3 separate regions of the Homo sapiens genome follow, and all the other regions are linked to region 2. The links are contacts of gene promoters, found by promoter capture Hi-C in human tissues and cell types (Jung and others, 2019). All regions are on one chromosome and are shown on one strand. The core of a region is centred on a gene start or on the middle of the fragment in contact, and the rest is flanking DNA. Distances in the headings are between cores, read along the strand shown.

Region 1 (3,170 bases), core at 152-2,651, 250 kb before region 2:
ATATATGTAGAGAGAGTTTGTTTTTTTTTTAATGTAATGACTTCTGTTTTTGGCATCAAGGTACACAAATTAATGTGAAGGGCCTCCCATTTATGACAAAAACTTGGAAATGCTAGTTAGAAGTAATGAACATCCTTTTATAATAACTGGGAAAGCAATAAAGTAAATTCCTTGATTCCCCTCAACCCCACCATACACACACACACACAAAGAGAGAAAGAAGAAAAAGAAGCAGAAAGAAAGAAAAAGTCGGAATGCTAAGCATCAATGGAAGCTGGAGATGACCTGGGGCAGATTTGTGCCAGTCTTGGTGACCAAGGTGTCTGAAGCCTTGGGGACTAGTAAGGAGAAACAAGTACACATATATCATGCATAAAGATAAGATTCCTGAAGAACTGTACTCTCAACGAAACAACAGATTAGAACAAATGCACTTAGCATCACATGGAAATCATGGGGAAGTATGTCTGTTTTGGAATGGGCTTTAGGTCTGAGAAACATTGGCCAAGAGATTTCACAAAACATAGGCCTGCTTTCAGGAGGGTTTAAAGTTTAAATTTACTGACATGTGGTCCCAGAAACCCCAAACTGATTTAAGTTTAATTAAAAATGGACCTGGACTGGTAATACTCTCTGGGAAGTCTCATTCCCAATCCCTGATAGTCCCACAGATAAAGCCCCTCTTAAAATGAGTTCAAATAATTACAAAACACATGAGGAAATAATCCACCACAAGCAGACACCTACCACTCTCACAGAGAATTTCAGAAAACAGAATTAACAGAGATTATTAAATAAGTATGTTTAAAATGACTTAAAAGAAAGAAACACTAGAAAAGAATAATGTAGTATCAAAAAGATTTGAATAACTAGAACTTCAGAAATGGAAAATATAGTCAATGAAATTAAAAACTCAGTGTTATTTGAGTAGCAGATCAAACATAGCTAAAGAGAGAATCAGTGAAACAGAACATAGATCTGAGGAAATTACCCACAAGGTATGCATAGAGAGAGAAGGAGGCAGAAAATATTTTCTTAAGTTTTTACCACTTGAAATACTGACAAGTGTGGAAGTTGAGAGAACAGACATCAGCCCATGATGACTTCCTAAACCTCTACCCAAATTTGTGTGCAATAAGTAGGCAATAGCCAGGATCTAGGTTAGACCAGATATTAAGAAGACTGCTGGGTAAATGACACTGACAAAGCTACAACTCTTCAGACCACAAATAAGCCAATGTGACATTATTTTAGTAGAAGCATTTATCTGAATATCATCTTTTAAACATAAAAACTTTTTAAAACAAAGGCATAACTTTGTGAGTTTAGTTTTAATTTCTACCCACTATATTATTTTTATATTTTTCTTATATTTCTACCCACTATATTATTTTAAACAAGTCATTTAATTGCAGTTAACTGATCAAGGTTTGCTATTTTGAAAAGCAAAGTATGTCATGACCTAAATGAACTAAAATATAACAGTCTTAATATTAGCAGGAAATAAAAAAACAATTTTTTTAAAACAATGAAAAATAAGAGCAGGAAAAGTCTAAGTCAATCCAGACTTAAGACTCTAGATTGTCAAGACTCCCCGAAGACCTATTCCTTTACCATTTCAAATAATTTCACCTCAAATAACATTCAGAATGAACATCTATCTACACAGGTGGATGCAGAGAGAATGAGATCACTTGACCATCTAATTAATCTGTAATTTATGAGATAAAAAGCTCTATTTCTCCCAAATTACAAACCAATTGTTCAAGCAACATTTTAAAAGTAATCCTTATCTTCTCCAAGGACATATGAGCCATTTACTGTATATTAAATTTTACATTATAGCATTCATTCCAGAAAACCTATACTATTTCACTGATCTATTTTAATGCTTCTTATACAGTTTTACTTCTTTTTTCTTACTTTTGTATTTCTTATGCATTTTTAATCGCTGTAATTTTATTATATGTTTTGCTATGGTTTTCTTTCCTTTTTTCTGACTTCATCTTTAAATAAGCTTAGACATCTTGTCAAGTTTTTAAAAATATCCTATTTGAAATTTAAAATGTTTTATTCTGATCATAAAATAATATAGTCTTAGAGAAGAAGAAAATAAAACCTACCTTTAAAATCATTCAAAATATTCTGATAGAAATTATTTAAAACATTAAGTAACTTACATTTGAACTTTCATCCCTCATTTGCAAAAACCGAAAAGATACATTTATCAAGGAATTCTCATACCTTGCACTGTTCTACTTTATTTCCAGCTTCATCCATCTCTTCCTTTAGAGTATCTATTTTTGATGGAAGCCCCTGAAAGTTGGTTCCTGAGGATTTGTGAGCTTGGTTCCACCTGCAAAACAAAGGGGTCACCAGCATCTGAGAACCAGCTGTGTATACTCAACAGCTGGAGGCAGGACCTGGTGGAGATAGATCCTTCCCCACAATTGATTCTACCTGGAAGGGGTATCATTGCCCAGGATGCCAAATTCTCTTGAGCTTATTCTCTAAGAATGGAAGCAGGCAAAAGGAGACTTTAGCTTCTCACCATGACAGGACTCTCATAGTGCTAGGAGTAGTGGTCTGCTTTGAGCATAACCAACCACATCTTGTCTCACACAAACTCTACTACTGGAGAGAAATCCATGGAACCCCTTTCTTGTGGTGGCCAACCATGGAATCCCTGCCACCGGAGGAGAGCAAGGTGCTCTCCTTGCTCTCTTGCTTTGAGCTGAAATGTTCCCTGTGCCACTGGGAATCAGCTCCTGCTTTTGAGAACTCCTTGTGGCTCTTTCCACTACCATACTACCATCTGTGACCTGGGATTACTTTCAGAAAGTAAAAGCCAGAACTTCAATAGTGTAGCTATGAGGCTGGGTGCGGTGGCTCACGCCTGTAATCCCAACACTTTGGGAGGCTAAGGTGGGAGGATCACTTGAGCTAGCAGTTTGAGACCAGCCTGGACAACACAACAAGACTCCATGTCTACAAACAACAATAACAATAATAATGTAGGTATCAATCAATAGCTATGAAAGCACTAAAAAGAAAAAAAAAGAAACTATAGTAATAATAGGGGAAAAGTGGGAAATAATCATAGAAAACAATTTGTTTTGATTTTCAAATGTGCTTTGACCTTCTGTTTGAAAATGGGTATGTCTGGTGTT
Region 2 (3,173 bases), core at 402-2,901:
CTCCACTTCCTCGTCTGTGAAATGGTTGTAATAATAGTACCTGCTTCACAGGGTGGCAGTGAGGTTTAAATGAGATAATAGAAGGCACTTAGCCCCAGTGCCTGGCACATAGAAAGTGCTCACTATTAGCTATTAGTTACAGCTAAGCATGTATTGTAAATTAGTGGACACTGGTATTGTGTGTCTAGCACTGTCCTGAGCACTTTACCCGTATTATCTCATTTAAACTTCCCAACGACCCTATGACATGGTGAAACCACTAACATCCACACCTAACAGATGAGAAAACAAAGGCCCAGAGAGGCCAAGTCATGTGCCCAAGGGTTACATAGCTAGTTTACAGCAGAGCTGGGATTGAACGCCAGGCAGCCTATTTCCAAAGTTCATGGGTCTTGCCGCTGCATTGCATTACCTCTTGCCAGTCTCTGCTGCCTCTGTCTGTGAAGGATCGTCATCTATACACTCAGTCCTGGCTCAGGCTGTCACGGTGACTGCAGGTGTTTGAAGCTGTGGGACTCATTGGAAAAATAATTGAAAATGGGATTGCTGTTTCTTTCTTTTCTTTTTTCTTTCTTTCTTTCTTTTTTTTTTTTTTTTTTTTAGACAGGGTCTCACTCTGAGGCTGAAGTGCAGTGGCGCGATCTTGGCTCACTGCAACCTCTGGGTCCTGGGTTCAAGTGATTCTCATGCCTCATCCTCCTGAGTAGCTGGGATTACAGGCAAACACCAACACGCCCTCTCTTTCTTTCTCCTTCCTTCCTTCTTTTCTTTCTTTTTCTTTTTTCTTTCTTTCTTTCTTTCTTTCTTTCTTTCTTTCTTTCTTTCTTTCTTTCCTTCCTTCTTTTCTTTCTTTCTTTTTCTTTCTTTTTCTTTCTTTCTTTCTTTCTTTCTTTCTTTCTTTCTTTCTTTCTTTCTTTCTTTTTCTTTCTTTCTTTCTTTCTTTCTTTCTTTCTTTCTTTCTTTCTTTCTTTCTTTCTTTTCTTTCCTTTCTTTCTTTCTCTGTCTTTCTTTCTTCTTTCTCTTTCCTTTTTTTTTTTTTTCAGAGCCTTGCTCTGTTGCCCAGGCTGGAGTGCAGTTGCACAATCTTGGCTCTGCGCAATCTTCGTCTCCCAGGTTCAAATGATTTTCCTGCCTTAGCCCCCCAAGTAGCTGGGATTACAGGCGTGCACCACCACGCCCGGCTGAGTTTTGTATTTTTAGTAGAGACGGGGTTTCACCGTGTTAGCCAGGATGGTCTCAATCTCCTGACCTCGTGATCCACCTGCCTCGGCCTCCCAAAGTGCTGGGATTACAGGCGTGAGCCACTGCACCTGGCTGTTTGCTGTTTCTTAACATGTGAGGTTCCAACCCAGTGGGGCCCACTAACATGTGCTGTTCTGCTTTGGACCGTGGGGAGCTGGGGTGCTGGACCCATCTCCCACCTTCTACAGCCTGGAGTGTGCTCCCAGATGACACAGCCAAGCTGGCGTGTTTTTCCCTCACTGGCGGAAAGTTCAGCAATCCCTGACTCCCTCACCCTGCCCTGTTGAGATTTAAAAAAATTTCCTCTTCTGGGCCTCAGAGCCGCCTCCTACCTGAGGTTTATTGCTTTCTCTGCACCAGCATTGAGCCTCTGCAGCCCTTTAAAAGGGGCAGAGCCCATAGTGTGATCAGCAGGTCCTGTCCCTAGGAGATAAGAGTATCTTGCACAGCAGGTGCAGGTTTCCCAGCAGCTCAGGCAAGAGTCCGATGTTTGTGCCATCTGATCCTGATGTCTGGAGAGGTGAGCCCTCTGTCGGCATCTTCCTCTCCAGGCTGGCAGAGCAAGGGGGGCTGTGAATTAATTCAAGGTTGGGGGTCGGGGCCTTCTATATCTGGACTTGCCTCCCACCCGTGTCCTCTGTCCCTTTTTCCCTACGGCAGATAGCCATGTGTGAGCCTGAATTTGGCAATGACAAGGCCAGGGAGCCGAGCGTGGGTGGCAGGTGGCGAGTGTCCTGGTACGAACGGTTTGTGCAGCCATGTCTGGTCGAACTGCTGGGCTCTGCTCTCTTCATCTTCATCGGGTGCCTGTCGGTCATTGAGAATGGGACGGACACTGGGCTGCTGCAGCCGGCCCTGGCCCACGGGCTGGCTTTGGGGCTCGTGATTGCCACGCTGGGGAATATCAGGTGAGACCAGCTCTGAGGATTCAGCCTGATGCTGACTTGGGGCACTGGGTGTGGAAAGCAAAGGCGTTGTCAAGGACCCCTGGGCGCATACGTATTCGGGATTTCAAGGAGCGCTCTGGATAACTATGGGGTTGGGAGTCAGACTGGGGTCAACTCCAGACCCCGCAGCCTGTGAGCTTGTGACTTTGAGCAAGTCATTCTCTTTTTGAGTAGCTGGATCACAGGCATGCGCCGCAGCACCCAACTAATTTTTAAATTTTGTTGTAGAGATGGGGTCTCACTATGTTGCCCAGGCTAGTCTTGAACTCCTGGTCTCAAGCGATCCTCCTGCCTTGGCTTCCCAAAGTTTTGGGATTACAGGCATGAGACACCATGCCTGGCTGGCAAGTTACTCTCTAAACCCAAAGTTCCCCGCCTATAAAATGGGAATAGTAGCTTTTAAATGTTTTTTTTTTCAAGCCAACATATCTATATTGCTAACCATGTACCAGGCACTAGTCTAATTACTTTATAGATATTAGTTATTTAATCCTCACAAAAGCCTTGTGGGGTAGGTCCTGTTATTAGCCCCATTGTACAGCTGCAAAAGTGAAAGGCCATGTAATCTGTCCAAGCTTAGAGGGCCAGAAAGTGGCAGAGGCGGGAGTCAAGAACAAGCTGTCTGGCTCCAGCGCTCAAATCCAAGTGCCTCATGCGGAAGTCATGAGAATTAAATGAAGTAGAGCGCCTGGCACACACCAAACATACAACAGGCATTGGTTGCTGTGTTATTGTTACCACTAGAAGGGGGTTTTAGGGAAAGCAGAAATGCATAGAAGACCTGAGCCAGGTTTTCCCACCTGGGTATGCAGAGATCTGCAGTGGTCCTGGCTTGTCAAGAGGTGATCAAGAAGGAGGGGCAGGGAAAGGGACAGGCTTCTCTGGCTTAGCTCTCGTCTGGGTAGAGGCTCAATGGGGAGGTCTGTGGACATGGCTGCTGGTTCCCAGGAGAGCCAGCCATCACGACGAAGATCTTGAGTGGGG
Region 3 (3,331 bases), core at 447-2,946, 130 kb before region 2:
CATGGCGGAGAGGAATCTGCCTTAGGAGAAATCTTGCCCAAAGTCTCACCTGTATCTGATTCAAATGAGACTCTGGACTCTTGACTTGGTGCTGGAACAAATGAAAACATTAAACCTGTTGGGATGGAATGAATGTACTCTGCATGTGAGAGGACATGAATTTGGGGGGCTGGGGCAGAATGCTATGGTTTGACTGTGTTCCCCAAAGTTCATGTGTTGGAAACTTCATTCCCCATCCAGCAGTGTTGAGGGGGCGGATTTTTAAGAGGGGATGGGTCACGGGGCCCTGCCCTCATGAAAGCGTTAGTTATCGCAGGAGGGGTTCCTGATAAAAGAATAAGTACAGGCCCCTTCCCCCCTCTTCCTCTCCTGCAGGCAAGCATGCCCTCTTGCCCGTCCACCTTCCACCATGGGATGATGCAGCAAGAAGGCCCTCACCAGATGTGGGCCCCTTGACCTTGGACTTCCCAGCGTTGAGAACTGTAAGAATAAATCTTTGTTCTTTAGAAATTACCCAGTCTCAGATATTCTGTTACAGCAGCACAAAACAAAGTGAGACAGAGGGTGTAGGGCAGGAAATTTCCTCACCCAATTCAGTGAAACTGTAAATTGGTAAAAAAAGGACTTGAAAAGCCTGGCAGTGGCTATTCATAATGTGCAAACTCTGCACTAGCGATTCCTGCAAACATGCACATATACTTGTATTTGCTATAACACTGTTTAATATAAAAACATAGGCTGGGCACAGTGGCTCACACCTGTAATCCCGGCACTTTGGGAAGCTGAGGTGGGCAGACTGCTTGAGCTCAGTTCAAGACCAGCCTGGGCAACTTAAGCCCAGGAGTCTGAGGCTGCAGTGAGCTGTGATCGAGTCTCTGTACTCCAGCCTGGGCAACAGAGTGAGACCCTGTTTCAAAAGAAAACAAAACAAAACAAAAAATAAAAAGGCAAAAATCTAAGTGATTATCAGTAGGGAACAGATTAAATGGAGGGGAATTTCCCCTCTATTAAGATTAAATAGATTAAATAGAGGGGAATTTCCACAAAGGAGTACAATAAAGCAATTATAAATAACGATGCAGATCTGTATATGCTGACATGAAAAGAGCAAGTTACAAAACATGTATGTTATTCACTATTAAAATTACATAAATGTTTATATTTATAAACAAGTGGTAGAGACTCATTCATTCAACAGAAATATACTGAACTACAGGATATAGCTGTTCAGTGTGTATGTACATTTGTTCAACAGAAATATGTTGAACCAAAAAAAAAAGAAAAGAAAGAGGAGGAGATGAGTCCATGTACTCCTCAGTTTACTCATGAGCTCATTTACTGCACAAATGCAGACACTCACTACAAAAATGGCAAATATATATTTGCTACTGTTCAAAGCAAGAGCCCCTCTAAAAAGGCCTTCACTAGCTACTGGGAAGGCTACATTTGAGGCTACAATGAGCTATTAACCTGCCACTGCACTCCAGCTTGCGTAACGGGAGACCTTATTTACAAAAAAAAAAAAAAAAAAAGAAGTAAATAAACAAGACTTTAATTACATTCGGCCCTAAGCACATACAGTAAAAATTCAGTGGATGCAGGTCTCAGGTGAGGTCAGCGAAGCATTATGCTCAGCATTTGATGTCCAAATCACAAACGGATCATGAAATACTTACATGTAGAAATAACTAAGACTTGGCTGGGCGCAGTGTCTCATGCCTGTAATCCCAGCACTTTGGGAGGCCAAGGGTGGGTGGATCACGAGGTCAGGAGTTCAAGACCAGCCTGAACAATATGGTGAAACCCTGTCTCTACTAAAAAGTACAAAAATTAGCCGGGCTTGGTGGCACACGCCTGTAATCCCAGCTACTTGGGAGGCTGAGACAGGAGAATCGATTGAACCTGGGAGGCAGAGGTTGCAGTGAGCTGAGATTGCGCCATTGCACTCCAGCCTGGGCAAAAAGCGCAAAACTCCGTCTCAAAAAAATAAATAAAAAGCATATTTAATATAAAATATAGCTTTATATTGGGAAAGGCTGAAAAACTTAATTTCATAAGACAAACTAGAAAAAATAAAGCTTGACGAATATTTCCCATTTGTAAGTATTAGTCTTCTCTACAGGACAAGCTGAAACACATATTAATTTTTTAAAAGAATTAAGATTTTATTTACATGATTGATTAAAAGGGGTATGGGAATGTAGTTAAAACTAGTAAGAAGCCTTGAACTTGGGCTTAAAGTCACAGTTTAAATCTCAGCTCCACTCTTTCCTAGCGAGGTGACCTTGGGCACATTATCTTCTTTGAGCCTCAGTTTCCTCATCTGCAAAAACGTGATAATAACAGCACTTAATTCACGAGTCCGCTGTGAGGACTGAATGAAACAACCCAAGCAAACCACTTAACATGCTACTAGGCACGAACACTCAGCACACATTAGCAAACTTGTCATCTGCAACTTTGCAAACTCCTTGAATACCGGACTCGGAATGGCCCCATAATATCTCATCTATAATAACTAACTTCAGTCTTCCATTCATTCACACATACAAAAACCATTTACTGCACATCTAGTCTGGGCCAGGTAACCTTCTCTATGCCCTGGGGATCAAGAAAGACACATAAAGATTCAGATTATGAAATTATGAGAGGTCATTTTTTAAATGTTCAGGCAAATTACATTAATTGCTAGAAGAGTCGTAAGGAAAAGGATATCGCATTCTGAAGACTGCACGACATGCTGGAGTGAGGATCCCAGGCCAAGAAAGCAAGTGGGGAGGGGGTCAAAGGAAAGCAGTTCCCTAAAGTGAAATCTGCCATCTACCGAGAGCTGGGTGTGAATTCTACCTGGTTCTTTTTCTTCTGGCTAAACCACACTTACTTAATACTGTGTAGCTTTCTCATGACGATCATTTGAAAGTTGACCTCAACTTATTTATTTACTTATTTAATTATTGACACGGAGTATCACTCTGTCACCCAGGCTGGAGTGCAGTGGTATGATCATGGCTCACTGCAACCTCCACTTCCCAGGTTCAAGTGATTTTCCTGCCTCAACCTCCTGAGTAGCTGTGATTACAGGTGCATGCCACCATGCCGGGCCAATTTTTGTATTTTTAGTAGAGACAGGGTTTCATCATGTTGGCCAGGGTGGTCTCGAACTCCTGGCCTCAAGTGATCTGCCCGCCTTGGCCTCCCAAAGTGCTGGGATTACAGGTGTGGGCCACGGTGCCCAGTCAAACTCAACATATTTACTTGGGAGACGATCTTCATCCTGGGGAAAAACACAGAGTATCTGTAATTATTTCTCCAGTCATATGTTATGATCATA

Evidence for each region. Contacts are between HindIII fragments. The study calls those that stand out against the background at their distance.
Region 1: a contact is called between a fragment that was not itself captured here and the fragment with the promoter of AQP8 in region 2, in 2 of the 25 tissues and cell types used here (IMR-90 fibroblasts and aorta).
Region 3: a contact is called between a fragment that was not itself captured here and the fragment with the promoter of AQP8 in region 2, in 1 of the 25 tissues and cell types used here (bladder).

What each region holds. Positions count from the first base shown.
Region 1 is chr16:24,961,953-24,965,122 of GRCh38, forward strand. ARHGAP17 (Rho GTPase activating protein 17) reads right to left here. Exons shown (of 20, transcript NM_001006634.3): 7 at 2,245-2,356. Among named protein-coding and RNA genes, the nearest start is that of ARHGAP17, 52 kb to the right of the region's middle. The HindIII fragment of the contact is 8,561 bases long and covers 1-3,170 here.
Region 2 is chr16:25,215,296-25,218,468 of GRCh38, forward strand. It overlaps AQP8 (aquaporin 8), which reads left to right and starts at 1,652. Exons shown (of 6, transcript NM_001169.3): 1 at 1,652-1,762; 2 at 1,903-2,150. The coding sequence starts at 1,751. The HindIII fragment of the contact is 27,087 bases long and covers 1-3,173 here.
Region 3 is chr16:25,083,450-25,086,780 of GRCh38, forward strand. No RefSeq gene overlaps it. Among named protein-coding and RNA genes, the nearest start is that of LINC02175, 18 kb to the left of the region's middle. The HindIII fragment of the contact is 4,255 bases long and covers 1-3,331 here.